Linked DNA regions of Homo sapiens: region 2 is linked to region 1. The links are contacts of gene promoters, found by promoter capture Hi-C in blood cells and fetal thymus (Javierre and others, 2016). All regions are on one chromosome and are shown on one strand. The core of a region is centred on a gene start or on the middle of the fragment in contact, and the rest is flanking DNA. Distances in the headings are between cores, read along the strand shown. Region 1 holds the start of SH2D4B (SH2 domain containing 4B). Region 2 overlaps PRXL2A (peroxiredoxin like 2A).

What was found. The method cuts DNA at HindIII sites, captures the fragments that hold promoters and counts their contacts. A CHiCAGO score of 5 or more calls a contact.
Region 2: a contact is called between a fragment that was not itself captured here and the fragment with the promoter of SH2D4B in region 1, in 14 of 17 cell types (activated CD4 T cells, non-activated CD4 T cells, monocytes and 11 more). The highest score is 10.4, in activated CD4 T cells.

What each region holds. Positions count from the first base shown.
Region 1 is chr10:80,536,470-80,539,374 of GRCh38, reverse strand. SH2D4B (SH2 domain containing 4B) reads right to left here and starts at 1,473. Exons shown (of 8, transcript NM_001388272.1): 1 at 860-1,473. The coding sequence starts at 1,043. The HindIII fragment of the contact is 17,935 bases long and covers 1-2,905 here.
Region 2 is chr10:80,422,385-80,425,337 of GRCh38, reverse strand. PRXL2A (peroxiredoxin like 2A) reads right to left here. Exons shown (of 6, transcript NM_032333.5): 3 at 2,830-2,921. Among named protein-coding and RNA genes, the nearest start is that of PRXL2A, 15 kb to the right of the region's middle. The HindIII fragment of the contact is 2,961 bases long and covers 164-2,953 here.

The sequences.
Region 1 (2,905 bases), core at 224-2,723:
ACTTTGTTCTGGATTGAAAACTTCAAAGGGTGAAGGCACATAAGCCTTGCAAACTGTAAAGTGCATGCAGCATCCACAGAAACTACAATCCCTGGCAGGATTGAGTCCTGTGCCAAGCCAAGCCTCAGCAGCCTGCCAGTTTCTGGCCCAGGGGTCCTGGATGATTTCCTTCACCCACAGGTGTACCAGTCCATAGGATTGACTGGCACATGACTTTGCATACAAAACACCTGAAATGTAGGCTAGGCCCTTGCTTCTCATCTGCAGTTGCTACGACCATTTGGGGATGGTCATTCATTGTGTGGGACGTTCCCTGATGCCCTCTCTCCGGATGCCCAGTGGGGCTCCAGAGACAACCCACAGCATCCTCCTGCCGGAGGATCTGGAGGGAGAGGCACAGTCCACAGAAGGGGCCCTAGCCAAGAACTGGTGTGCCACGCATGCCAAGGAGAAAGGAACTGCATATCTACACCACACTCTGGCCCAGAACCAATGGCAAGGGTCACAAATATGCCGTCGTTCACCCTACCATTGCCAACCACGTCGGAGCACAATCTGAAGTCTCAATGGTGTCTTCCCAGAACTCGGGCCTTCCACAACAAGACAAAGCAAGTCCCAACTCCCCGACTCCAATAAGGGCCGCTGGACAGCCTCTGCAGCAGCCTCGAAGCCCTAAGGTCCTGGCCAAAAGGCAAAAGCACAGGCTCATGGGACCTGATGCCCACAAGACAAGGGTTTCAAGCCCCCAGCCCTCATCACCCCAGTGCCCATCTTGAAGAAGGGCACAGCCTGGCCCTGCTAATTTTTCTACCTCCTGGGGGACTGGTGGCCTACCTCTCTGTGACTCCCAGCCACGTACCTCGCTTGGTCTTTGGAGGCCTGAGACCCTCGTCCTGGGCCAGGGCCTCCCAAGTCTCCCGCTCCTTCCAGCGCCTCAGCTGCTCCTCCCGCATTTTGTAGAAGAGGATGTGCTTCTGCACATCGCTGAGCTCGGCAAGGAGCTCGGGGTCGATGTACATGTCGTGCAGGATCTGCTGCAGCATGATGCCACCTGGGATGCACGCACCAGAAGGGCAGCCAGCAGGGGAAGCAGGGCCAGGCAGAACGCCCGAGGGGCTGCTCTGCACTACGGACTGCTCAATCCGGGGCCACTCTCGGTGCCCCTTCTCTGTGCAGCATTGTCAGTTGGCCTCAGCTTGCAGCCAGCGACGAACTCATCTCCTCTACCCAGGACAGCAAAAGAGGCCAGGCAACAGGACCCAAAGGGGCAGGTGGGACTCTGCAAGGGGGAGCAACCACCAGGAGCAATCTAGTCCTTCTCCTGGGTCACCAAGCACGGCATCCCAGGAGAGCCCATGTCTTGGCATCACCTGGGGTTCTGAGACAATGGGAAGGGCCCAAGCCTCCAGCTCAGCCAGGAAATGCCCAGTCCCAGCCCTGCCTGGGCTGGTAGGTGTCGAGTGATCTGTTAGTGGAAGGTAACAATGACACCAGCTATATCAATGACACTGCCCCGGCCAGCTGGGAACTGATCTCTCCTCTGCAGATAAGAGGAGGAGAAGGAGGCAGACTTGCCTACTAAATTCCATGTCTTTTCAGCCAATTTCAAACACAGACCAGAGGAGCCTGCCAGAAGCTGCTGGGCCCCTCAGCCCTCTCAGCCCCTCTCTCTGCGGGTTCCTTCGCTGCCAACTTTCTTCCTTTCCAGAACATTTGGCATTCTGAGATGATGCGTTTAAAACTCTGCCTTGGGGGAGGAAAGATTTTTCCTCCTATCTGTGTTACAGCCAAGAAAGAAAACAAAATGGAATCAGTAGAGACAACTGGAGGGGATTTTATCTTGGAATTCCAGGACAGAAAGGAAGCAGACATCCTTTCCCTTTGGCCTATATATAATGAGATCCTGCAGCCATGCGTGGCTGACAGATAAACCCTCCAGGGGCCAGTTTTAATGGTCGTTGTTAATCTTGTTTGTTGCAGATGCCTGGAGTTGACCAAAAAGAAAGAAGATGAAACTGGCTCTTCTCTGTGCCCTGATCAGAAGCACACTGGAATGGCGGGATGTTGCCTTCTGCTGGGAGGGAAGCCACCCTCTCTTTGGTGTGTGAAGGTGGGTAGAAGCTGCCGTTGCTGAGATCTTTAGGGTGAAAGCTCACCCTAAATATGTGCTCAGAGCAAATCACAGATGCCTTCTTATTGGGACAAGGATATTGAAGCTCAGAGAAAGTAAGTGGCTTGCCTATGGCTTCCTAATGGACAAGTCACTGTATTGGGACTCCCCCGTTTTGAAATTTGACATCCACTAGCAACTATGAATCTGTTGATGGTTTGAAAACATAACCCAACCAAGGGAAAACAAACGAACCAACAGGATTTGGCACTGTGGCTTGGTTGGATTGGTGACCTTCCTGTCCCCTTCCTTGCCCATGAGGGTGGAAGGTGGATCAGGTACCCAAGAGTGATGGAAGAGGGGTGGAGAGTTGGCATTCTTCCCCCTCTGCAAGGTTAACACAACAGGAAGATGGACTAAGCAGATTCAGATGAGCTGTAAGCCCATAGGGTCAAAGCTCCTGCTCAGCTAGGCAATGTCCAGGTCACAGGAGTGGAGTCAGACGCCCCACCCCTCCCCACCCAGGTCCAGCTAGCTGGTCCCAGTGTGCCCAGACCTTCCTAGAGCCGCCACAGGACTCGCCTGTCCGCTGCAGAGCTGTGGCCCTGGACTCCCATCCACCCACCTCAGGGCTTGCACCGACTCCCCCACCGGGAGTCCTGGCTCCCCTCAGTTTCTGAGACCGGGGGTCTTCCCTAGCCTCTGCCCAGCTATTCTCTTTCTCCCCCTCGCCGTGGCTGGTGGGAGACCCCCGAGTCCAAAGAGGAGACAAGGGGAGGAAGGCCCCCAGGGTCT
Region 2 (2,953 bases), core at 395-2,894, 110 kb after region 1:
GCCTAGAACATGGCTGGGTATAAAACAGGTGCTAAATACCAGGTGGAAAGATTTGAAGGGGGACAATGGGGAGAATGCAGCTGAGCTGAGATGCAGATACCCTTGACTCTCAGGAACTGTGTGCTAGATGAATGAGGGAAACTGCATGAGTCATGGTAAAGCTTCAACATTAAGAACTCAATCCTTTTTTCACATTTGGTGTCAGAATTAAAGAATGAGCAAAAATCCTTTTAAATGCAGTCTACTCATCTCCAATACAAATATGCTGTTGTATGGTTGCAACTACATTTAATTTTTCATTTATTTTCTAGAGTAAGAAAAAAAACAACTAATGAGGCAGAATTGATTACAATACATTTATCAAGAGTTTTACTGACTGGCAAATTTTGCCCTAGAGCAGAGGACTACAGTGTTTGATATAATCAAAAACCACCTTTTTGTGATATGAAAGGTCTTTTATTTTTGAGATGGAGTCTTGCTCTGTCGCCCACGCTACTCGCCCATGCTGGAGTGTAGTGGCACAATCTCAGCTCAATGCAACCTACACCTCCTGGGTTCAAGTGATTCTCACGCCTCAGCCTCCTAAGTAACTGGGATTACAGGGGCGCACCACCACACCTGGCTAATTTTTTGTATTTTTAGCAGAGATGGGCCATGTTGGCCAGGCTGGTCTTGAACTCCTGACCTCAAGTGATCCACCTGCCTCGGCCTCCCAAAGTGCTGGGAGTACAGGTGTGAGCCACTGCACCTGGCCTTTTTTTTTTTTGAGTCTTGCCCTGTTGCCCAACTACAGTGGCACAATCATAGCTCATTGTAGCCCTGAACTCCTGGGCTCAAGCAATCTTCCTCCCTCGGCCTCCTGAAAAGCTGGGACTACAAGTGCACACCAACATGCCTGGCTAATTTTTTTTTTTTTTTTTTTTTTTTTTTTTGTAGAGACAGGGTCTCGCTATGTTGCCTAGGGTGGTCTCAAATTCCTGGGCTCAAGTGATCTTCTCACCTCAGCCTCCCAAAGTGCTGGGATTATAGGCATGAGCCACTGCACCTGGCTGAGATGAAAGGTCTTACTCACTTTTCCTGGCTCTTTACTCCTGGTGTGGCACTATACAAAGCCATGACGTGGAAACTGAGTCACATACCTCCTAGTTGGGCCACTCAAAATAACTCAGATTGCCATCCACCCATCTTTTTGGAAACGTAAGTTTCCACTAAATGTTCTATGTGGGCACAGACCAGTACAGAGGGAAACAGGTTATAATTAGGGAGAGCTGTTGCTCTTGGAACCTTCTGGATTTTAATGGCCCCGAGAAATCAAGTCAAAACAGGCTTCCATGCTGTTGCTGACTTGCCAGCCATTGCTGACCTAAAAATAGAGGAAGGGGCCATAAACCAATATACATAGGTGGCCTCTAACAGCTGGAAAAGGCAAAAGAAATGGATTCTCCCCTATAGTCTTCAGAAGGAATGCAACCAGATTCCGCTTTGGAATTCTGACCTCTAGAACTACAAGATAAATCTGTGCTGGTTAAAGCCATTGAGTTTGAGGTAATTTGTTACAGCAACAGAAAATTAATACATCTCCCCGATCCGGGTGGCTTTGTTACAACCTCTGTAACTGTTTCCTCCTCTGTAATGAGAATAATAAAATGAGAGTAAAACAAGCTGTATTTCCAAGGGCTATGGTGAGGACCCACTGAGATAGCAGGCACACAGTGCCCTGGGGGTAGGGTACTGCAGGCATCACATGCATCCAGCAGTGCAAGTGGATTCTTCACCAGCCCAGCCACACAAGCATGGAGAGATCAGCAAGGCTGAAAGGTGGTGTCTCAGGGTCAGGGAGGGGAACCAGGAGAATGAGGATGACAATTTGGACAGGGCCACAGCCACTGCTTGAGATGCAAAGTTGTCTCAAGAGCAGGAATACTGTCATTCCCAGTTTTCTCCCAGGCAGGGCAGTAATTTCAGAATCTGGGTCTTCTGCCACTGACTGGCTGTGTGACCACAAACAGACCACTAACCACTCTGGTCCTCAGTTTGCCTACCTATAAAGGGACAAGGCTAGATCCAAGTAGTGGCAATGTTCCTTCTCACACTAGCATTTTGTGTTTCAACAATCACAGTTCCTTCCTTCCACTGATAAGCTCCATCACCTACAAATAGATGATGTCTTCCCTTCGAGGGGCCAACCTGGAGACCACCCAGTCAGTGAGCTCCAACTTTCAACAAACTCTCATGCCAAATGCACTACTGGCATGACTGAAATCCCACTGAGCTACAGATTCAATGCTGAGAGCACACAGCAAGGAGGCAGAGCTAACATGTGAGAATGTGGCTCTCAGCTGTCCACGATGGACTCTAAGAGCTCCCCAAGGAAAGAGAGACAGGCAGGTCTGCTCTAATAGGTAACCTTGAAGTGTTTCCTCCGACACTGCAGCTTCATCACAGGGAGGGACTGACCACACCCGAATCAGAAGCAATCCAGGCACATCATATATCTGTGCTGAGCATCAGAAGCATGGAATTGGACCTGGTCACTGCCCCTGATTAAATTGGAATATGGTCCAGGACTCAGAAGGTACAGCACAGGGTGAAAGGCCTGGGAGTACTAAGGGAAACTGAGATGTGTTGCTAACCCCAGTAGGAGAGGGTGAGTTGTTTAAAAAAAAAAAAAAAAGAGCACAAATCAAAGAAATACCTAGAGCAAATAACAGAACAGAACATGTGGGTAAAAGGCTAAAGCTGGCTTACCGACCCTTGGTTCTGGCCGGAAAACAATGGCCCCTACTTGCCAGGATCCCTTTCTCTGAATAGATCCTCATCTGCACTCACCTCTCGACAGAGGAAACAGCCTGGCCTCCGCACGGCCATAATCACAGCTCCATTTTTTTCCCATAGCTCCTTTGCTTTGAAAGTCCTTGGTTCTAAGAGAGGAAAAAAAGAAATTCGATATCTC